Linked DNA regions of Homo sapiens: region 1 is linked to region 2. Evidence: promoter capture Hi-C in 16 types of primary human blood cells and fetal thymus (Javierre and others, 2016). All regions are on one chromosome and are shown on one strand. Each heading gives the region's core, a stretch centred on a gene start or on the middle of the fragment in contact. The rest is flanking DNA. Distances are from core to core; before and after follow the strand shown.

Region 1 (4,219 bases), core at 981-3,480, 45 kb before region 2:
TTTCAGGAGAGGAAAAAGGAGGGGTTGAAATCAAGCTGTATTCTATCTACTCCTGTTGTATATATCAGACGTCACAAACAAAAATTACAGTGTTAAATGAGCTAGTTATTTCCCTATAGAAACTGCAAGAAAGAATACAGCTTGGAATTTCCAACTTAACTTAAAACTACAATAAGGAGAATAGAAACTCACTATTCATTATTGACTACTTGAATAAATGGAAAATAGAGTTAAACGGAATGAAAATCACTACTTTTAACATGGCTTTTCTGACCATATCCATAATTAAAACATCTACATAAACATATATGCAATCAAAATGTCACTTCACACGAAAATAAAAATCTAATCACAGCATTCAATTTCTCACATGTGCAAAGCTTATACTATTGAGAGGGTATTTTATTTTCTTGAGAAACATGAAAATCCCAAATTAGAATTTGTGGCGGGGTAGACAGAACACCGTGTTAAAAGTGCTCTAGTTCCAGCTCTACCGTTAATCTCTTATGTGACTTGAGGCAGATCACAGTCTTCTGTGCCTCAATTTCTTCATCTGTAAAATGGTTATATGACTCCATCCCTATATTAGGGTGGTGGCAATGAGAACCAAATGTGAAAACTCTGAAGAATACTGAAGTCTAAAGTCAGGTTATCACTATTATTGTCATTACAAACATTATCATGTATCAATCATCTAGATTTTGGCAAATGAAGCCAACAATGAAAAGGCACATGTGAAAAGGCAGGTAAAACAGGAGAAGCCATCCTCCCACAGGCACGTGGGACTTACGTCCTGCATTTGGGCGTTGAAGACTGCACAAGATGACAACTGAAAAGACTGAATCATGATCTGAGCAACACCCTGTGGATCAGAATAGAATGCACCTCCCAGGTGAGAATATATCTGAATGACTTTTTGTAAACGAAAAGAATAATTATACAAATGTTGAGTTTCTTGAGGCCTGGAACAAGTCACTTAACAGATGGACCTCTTTCTCATCTGTAAAATGAAGGATTTGAACTAGATCAGTGGTTTCCAAACTCTAGTGTGTTGCTGTTGTTTTTTAAGCTAGTAGAACCCCCTTTTTTAAAATTCACCCCCAAAAATCCCAGTTTATAAACCACAGCAAAAGTGGTGTTGCTTGAGTTGAAGCAGAAGCAGGGGCTCACAGCCCAGAGTTCTTGCCGTCTTAGGGACTCCCATAGTTGCTTCTTTCAAAGTCAAAATTCCTGTTAGTATAGTTTGAAAACCACTGGACTTAAATGATCAAATATGTTCTAGCTCCATGACTGTATGACCATTACTTATGAATTCTCAAAAAAAGTTTGAAATAGACTGTAAAGTTATAAAGCTTTTGTACCTTCGCTTAAAGCAGTAGATAGAAATACTTTTAATATTTGTTAGATTACTAAATTCCTCATTAGATTTACTGAAGGAATTTATGATTACTTTCAGCTCTACTCAGAAAATACTGGCCTGTTACCAAAATTATATGAAAAATCACCAACAAAGTCTTATTAAAACATAGTATTACCTAATTCATTCAACATTAATTCTCAGTTTTGACTTTAGAATTTGATACATGGCCTTTTGGAATTAATAAAAATCTATATTCCTTTATAAGGCAAAAACCATATTATTCTAATCTGGTTTGAAATCCAAATTAACCAAAAGTACATGTGTGGCCAGCAAGGACTTCCTCTTCACTTGGTAACAAGACATGGCCAAGAACCACTGAGTCAAGCTGACGAGAGTTTAAGTTGCAGCACAAGTAGGTAGCTTAAATATGAGAGGCAGCATGGTGCAGCGAATCAGTGTGTGAAACATGTACCCAAACTTATCTGGATGAGAATCCTGGCTCTACCACTACCCAGGTGTGTGACCTTGGGAGGGTCACTCAGCCTTCCTGTGCTTGAGTTCCCTCAACTGTAAACTGGGGGTAATAAGACTACCTCAAGGATAATTAACTCAGATTAAATAAGTTCATACACATAAAGCATTTAGAACAATGCCTGACATATAGTAAATGCTGCGTTTGCTATTAACCACCTTAAACTAGGAATACCCACACCAGGCCAAGAAAAAATGTTTCAATGGCTCATAGCAAGAAAAAAACAAAAGCAAACTAAATTTATTCAGACAAGCTAGTTTTATTTAATTTTTAAATTCTAAGATTATATTTTCCTTATTTTTCATGGTGTTAAAAATATTCTCTCCTTTGAAATGATGGTGACAAGTAAATGGCAGTTTTAAAATATCTTTACTTAGCAAAATTTAAAAAAAAATTTTTTTAATGGCAGCCCATGTCATGGTCCCCAGTGGTTTTTATTGTTTCTATGTTTCTTTTTATGGGTCTATAAAATCCACAAGTCTGGGAACCACTTGTTAAATCACATAAAACAACAAATTAAAAAGATAATTCAAAGGATCGATTAAATACACGATCCACATCTCTTCTTCCTTTCACTGACTTATGTAATGGAAAATTGAGCTCATTTATCCTTGCCTCCAGGCTTAGCATAAATTTAATCAGAAGATTCATCTTCCTTCATATGAAAGACTTGTCATGTGAGATAATTCTAGAAAATTCTGTTACAAATACTAATTTATCTCACTTCGTAAAGAATTCACCAAGCCGGTGGTGGTGGCTCACGCCTGTAATCCTAGCACTTTGGGAGGCTGAGGCGGGCAGATCACGAGGTCAAGAGATCGAGACCATCCTGACCAACATGGTGAAACCCCATCTCTACTAAAAATACAAAATATTAGCTGGGCGTGGTGGTGCATGCCTGTAGTCCCAGCTACTCGGGAGGCTGAGGCAGGAGAATCGCTTGAACCCAGGAGGCGGAGGCTGCAGTGAGCCGAGATCACACCACTGCACTCCAGCCTGGAGACAGAGCGAGACTCCAATTCACCAAAAAAAAAAAAAAGAATTCACCCATCTTATGACAAGGCTTAACTTTATCATAACCTAGATTGGGTTGCTTTAAACTCTATATAGGTAAAAATAGTCTATTTGTTTAACTGCTGGATTGTGAACCAAAAAGAAAAACAAGGTACTTAATATTTAAAATCCAGTTTTAAAGTTGCTTATGTTGTCAAGCTTAAAAGCAATACATGTTTGAACTACCATTTAAAGTTACCATTTGCTATTTTTCTTCTAACTGCACTTTATAGAAATAATAGCGTTTTAATGGGCATACTTTTTGTAAGCACAAAGCTTATATACCATCCTCTATTTTTATGTCCTAAAAGTTTTCTAACAAACATTGGCATTACTACTTAAAACTATAAGCTCCCATCAAGATTAAAATCAGATAACAGTGGATTATACATTCATATACTTGTTTATTTCATCTGGAGTCAACTTTCCAAACATTCCACTTAACTTCATATTAGCAACTTAAATGTCACCATTAGTAGGAATTTAGTATTAAATAAAGAAGATTCCAGGAGTTTTTGAATGGGGAGAAGTCAACATCATATAATAATAACACTTAAAATTTACCCTTTCAACCATGGTTTATCAAGCTGTGAGAAAATGGTGCTTTCTGGTTTTAGTAGCATTAAGCTGCTGCTGTTACCTGAGCATGCTGGCTTTGTGCAAGCTCCTCTTTCCTGCGTTTCATGAGCTCTTTTCTCAGCTCTTTGGGTGCTTTCTCCACTTCATTTATAACCTACAGTGTATAAGCATGCAGGAGGTGGGGAAATGATACTTTCTCCACAGCAAGCATTTATGAGAGCAGATAAGCTACAAGTCAAATATTAAAGTTGTTAAAAAGTTCCTTTCAACATGCATTAGCATAGGTGTTAGTCTGGTGAAAAAGAATGAAAGAAGAGAACATGCATAATCTCAGTGCAGAAAGGGACATTACACCACACAAAGGTTAATTAGTTGCTTAATAACCCTATGTATCATTCTCTTTCTTAAAGGTCCAAAGACAACCAGCGAAGAATTACTTGCAGCACTGATGCTGAACTACAGGTGATAAACTCAACTGACCTTGTTGAAAGATCATAAAATTATAAACGTATCTATTGACATAGTTGGAAATATTGAACATAAGGAAAGCTAATGCCATTTATAAAAGTGCAAAATTTCATAATTGGCTTGATCATACTAAAGAAATAATGCTAAATAAAATCTACTTAATGAGGCCAAAAACAAAAAAGGAAAGCAAGTCTTAGAATACACAAAGGAGAAATAAATGGATACTA
Region 2 (4,572 bases), core at 1,570-4,069:
ACACCATGAAAACTGCCCATAATCACCTACCACCTTCTAACTACAAGATTCTAGGTGCCTTGAGCATTTATTTTTGCCTTTCCAGGCTAATTACATACTCACAGAACTTTAATGGGTGAAAGAATCTAAACTCCTAAGAAAGTTAATATTATGGCTAAGAAAACGGAGGTCCAGAGAAGTTAAGTGTTTTGTCCAGGATTACAACGCTGGTTTGTGACAGCCAGCACTAAAACACAACTCTTGATTCCCAGGAGTGATCTTCCCACTACAATGAAGCCTTGCATCTTATGAAGCTCTTGCTGAAGCCCATACTCTACCCTCCACACAAATAACAAAGCTTATTTTGCCAACTTCCACAGCCTATGATAGCTTCCACGACAGCATTCATATGCAGACAAAACACATTCTTTCATTTCAACAAATAAACAGACACATCACTATACGCTAAGGCAGTGAATGAACCCAAATATGTATCATAATTTTGGCCCTTAATTTTATTATAGAAACATAAACATATTAATTGTAATAAGTGACAAGTGCTATAATAGCCATGTGAACAACGTGTTCTGAAAGCACACAGAGAGGAGTAGATATTTTAGCCTGGATAAAGAATGAGGACTGGGGTTTTGACAAGATGCATTTGAGGCAGGGCAGAGGCAGAAGTGTAATGGTGCTTAGAAAGTAGTAGGCAGCCGGGGACGGTGGCTCACGCCTGTAATCCTAGCACTTTGGGAGGCCGAGGCGGGCGGATCACCTGAGGTCGGGAGTTCAAGACCAGCCTGACCAACATGGAGAAACCCTGTCTCTACTAAAAATACAAAATTAGCCGGGCATGGTGGCGTATGCCTGTAAACCCAGCTACTACGGGAGGCTGAGGCAGGAGAATCGCTTGAACCCGGGAGGGGGAGGTTGCAGTGAGCCGAGATCGCGCTATTGCACTCCAGCCTGGGCAAAAGGGGCGAAACTCCGTCTCAAAAAAAAAAGAAAGTAGTAGGCAAAATGCTCTCATTTCTACCAGTGACTGTTAAAATAAAAAACAATACTAAATATGGGCTCAGAAGACCTGAGTTCAAGTCTAGGCTGAGACTCATGTGACTGTGAACAATTTCAATATCTTCATCTGTGAAATGTGGATACTAATACTGACCTGCCTACCTCACAAGATTTTTGTGGGGGCCAAATTATTTGAAAGTACTTAAAAACTTCAAAGTCCTGTATAAACATAAGTTATTTTCTTACGTTTTCACTTCTAGGCAACCCTGTGGGTCCTTCCCCTAAACGCTGTCTCATAAAAAATTCGCCCTTCAGGATGAAAATACTCCAATGACATCATTCATATGTTCCTTAGGAGATATTAAATAGTTAACATTAATGCCTTCAGGTTGAAACGCCAAGCCTCTTTCTATTGAAATAAATACATGCGTGTGTGTTTTTAACTGCTTAAGCGCTGATACTGACTTCTAGTCAATGCTTACCATAAATATATTTAAAACTAGTACCACATGAAGGTTTTTTGGAAATTTTGTCAGAAATTCCATTCTATTTTATAGTATGCTGTCAAGCAACTAACTCAAGAAGAGACTGCAAGTAGCAATCACTTTGATCCCAACTAGTTCTGTATTAGCTCTAGATACAACCAAATATATATACTGGACCCTAAAAACAGAACTGTTGGAGTACAAGCATGCACGCGAATGCAGTCAGTAGACAAATCCACTGCAAAGTGCAATGAGTTTCTCATTCTAAAATACTTGAAGGGCACAACCAGACCCCTCCTATAAATTAAAGAACACTCTCATTTCCTTTGAAGTTTGAAAGAGTAGACTTTATAACCCTGTCTCCTTTTCCAATCGCTCTTTAAACTCCATCCAGGCCCCATTTTGTTCCACCGTAAACCCGACTTCTTAGCTACTCCTTGGATGATCAGCCAAGTAAAGTTGCATCGAACCGTAACAGTCAAAAGAAGGACAGGATAAGGACCAGGGGAGCAGAAGTCCTCCCGCCACTCCAGGCCAGTGGCTGTTTTACCTTCGCAGTACAACTTCCCGTTTTCCCCCTCTTACCTTGTACACTTTCCCAAAGGCTCCGTCGCCCAGTTCTCCTATAATCTCCCAAAAGTCTTCGGGGTTCAGGTCCCTCTTCACGTGTTCGTACTGCTTCTTCTTCTTCTCGCTCCCCAACTTGAAGATCTTACGGAAATTGAAGAAGGACATTTTTCCTCCCAACACAGAGTTCCTTGCACTTAAGGACTAAAAACAATAAAAGGCAAAGTTTCTCTTCCCTGCTCTCCCGCGCGAGCCCGGCTGGCGGCGGCGGGCGCGGCGTCCCTCGGCCCCCGCAGCTCCGGCCGGGCGGTCCCGGGAGAAGGCGGGGCGGCGACCCGGGCTCCGGCCCGCGGTGGGGGTGCTGCGCGAGCGGCCCCTCCGCCGAGCCCGGCCCGCGAGCCGCGCGGTGGGCGCCTCGCCTCCGGCCCACCCTCCGGGAGCGGCACCTGCCCGCAAGCTCGCTCCCACCCGGCCTGATCCGACGGGTCCGAGCGGTCAGGACTCCCGCGGCGGCGGCTTAGGCCCGTGTCACGGCGAGTCTCCAGGGGCGGCGGCCACTCTGGGAGAGAGAAGCGGCCGGCGGCCTCGGAGGCGGGCAGTCGAGAAGCCGAGCCCTCCCGCCTCGGGCCGCGAGCCTAGGGTCTCCTCCGCCGCCGTCCGCTCCCGCGGCGCAAGGCCCGCGCGTCCCCTCGGGTCTGGGGCGCCGCCGCCGCCGCCTGTCTCCCTCCCCAGCCCACACAGCCTCGGCCTGGAGCGCGCGCCGACGCCGACTCCGTAGCGCGCCCGCGCGCTTTCCCGGCTGCGCGCCCGCCCGGTCACGCGCCCTGCTCACCGCGCGCTCGCGTGGGGGCGTCCCCTCTGGCCCCGCGCACGCGCGCTACGTCCCTCAGACTGGCTGCCCCCGAGGGTTCGCGTGAGCGGAGCACGGGGCTCGGGGTGCGGGGGGCTGGTGTGATGGACGCATTTGTTCTTCGGTCCCTGACGATTGTTTCTCATTTGCCCTCCAAGCCCCAAATCCTGTCAGTCCACGGCCTTGATGGAGCGGCCCCCGTGGGACGACCCTGTTGATTGTGCTAGCGGATGTTGTCTCCATTCTGGATCTGGGAAAAACTGTGGAGTGAAAGCCGGACCTGTTAGGGTTGGGACCTGAAAGCGGACTTTTTCGCTCTCAGACGGGCCCCAGGTACAGTGAGAGGGGAGTTTGTGTGGTGGTTGTGAGCTTGAGCTTTGGAGAGAGAGATCTGTGACCTTGGGCAGGTGACCTCTCCGAGCCTCGGTTTCCTCGCCGTAAAATGAAGATCCTAATAGTCCCTACCAGAAGGTTGTGAATGAGACAATAGATGGAAGCCCTTTGCGCGGCCCCTGCACCCGTAAACGCTCAATCTTAGTTCTTACTCTTGTTGTTTTAAGTGTGCAGGCAAGATAGACACAGATACATAAAAACTGTTTAAGACCACTTCTCTTTTTTTTCTTTCTTTCTTTTTTTTTTTTTTTTTTTTTTTTTGAGACGGAGTCTCGATCTGTCGCCCAGGCTGGAGTGCAGTGGCGCGAACTAGGCTCACCGCAAGCTCCGCCTCCCGGCTTCACGCTATTCTCCTGCCTCAGCCTCCCGAGTAGCTGGGACTACAGGCGCCCGCCACCACGCCCCGCTAATTTTTTTGTATTTTTAGTAGAGACGGGGTTTCACCGTGTTAGCCAGGATGGTCTCGATCTCCTGACCTCGTGATCCGCCCGCCTCGGCCTCCCAAAGTACTGGCGTGAGCCACCGCGCCGGGCCCCCACTTCTCAACTGATGACTGCGACACTCCCTTGAGGGTAAAACTAACTTCTGGCCACCTCCACAACTGTAAACCTGGTGTCACTCTTGGTGACTCCACCTCAGCTAAGGCCCCCACTTCCTGATCTGCCTCCAGCCCCCTTGGGCAGCACTCCCTGGTGGGGCAGTGTGGACGTTGGCTGGAATCCGTCAGGTGGTGACCTACCTTCCCCTCCTCCACCAGACGGGAGCTCTTTCAGGCCAGTGGTTTGTTGTTCATCAAGATATCCAAGTACCCGGCAACATTCCTGGCATATAATAGGAAGGCAGATCTGGTGAATGAATGAATGAATGGCGGTATCTGGAGCAGAGACAATGTATGTATATATTGCTATTTATATAATGTCTGCCCCCCCAGTCATTTTGCCCTTCAGCCCCAAAATGGCATAGCAAAACCCCCCTTCCAGTAAGACGCTTAAGATGATTCAATTCCTTGAGATCCTTCTATTTTTTTAAGTGTTATTGCAATATATTGATATACAATAAACTGTACATATTTAAAGTGTGCATTTGGTTTTTTTGCTAGTACTTGTTTGCTTTTTTTTAAAATTATACTTTAAGTTCTGGGATACACATGCAGAACGTGCAGGTTTGTTACATAGGTATACACGTGCCATGGTGGTTTGCTGCAAGTGTGCACTTTTATATGTTTTGACAAATGTATAGACCTGTGAAAACAATACTATAATTATTTGTAATTATTATCATTTA

What was found. The method cuts DNA at HindIII sites, captures the fragments that hold promoters and counts their contacts. A CHiCAGO score of 5 or more calls a contact.
Region 1: a contact is called between a fragment that was not itself captured here and the fragment with the promoter of SLK in region 2, in 5 of 17 cell types (activated CD4 T cells, total CD8 T cells, endothelial precursors and 2 more). The highest score is 6.6, in activated CD4 T cells.

Annotation. Positions count from the first base shown.
Region 1 is chr10:104,010,275-104,014,493 of GRCh38, reverse strand. SLK (STE20 like kinase) reads right to left here. Exons shown (of 19, transcript NM_014720.4): 13 at 3,586-3,678. Among named protein-coding and RNA genes, the nearest start is that of MIR936, 36 kb to the left of the region's middle. The HindIII fragment of the contact is 1,752 bases long and covers 1,355-3,106 here.
Region 2 is chr10:103,965,387-103,969,958 of GRCh38, reverse strand. It overlaps SLK (STE20 like kinase), which reads right to left and starts at 2,819. Exons shown (of 19, transcript NM_014720.4): 1 at 2,064-2,819. The coding sequence starts at 2,213. LOC102724351 (a long non-coding RNA gene) reads left to right here and starts at 2,914. Exons shown (of 5, transcript XR_007062282.1): 1 at 2,914-4,178. RefSeq lists silencers at 2,298-2,397, 2,408-2,457, 2,498-2,957. The HindIII fragment of the contact is 5,644 bases long and covers 340-4,572 here.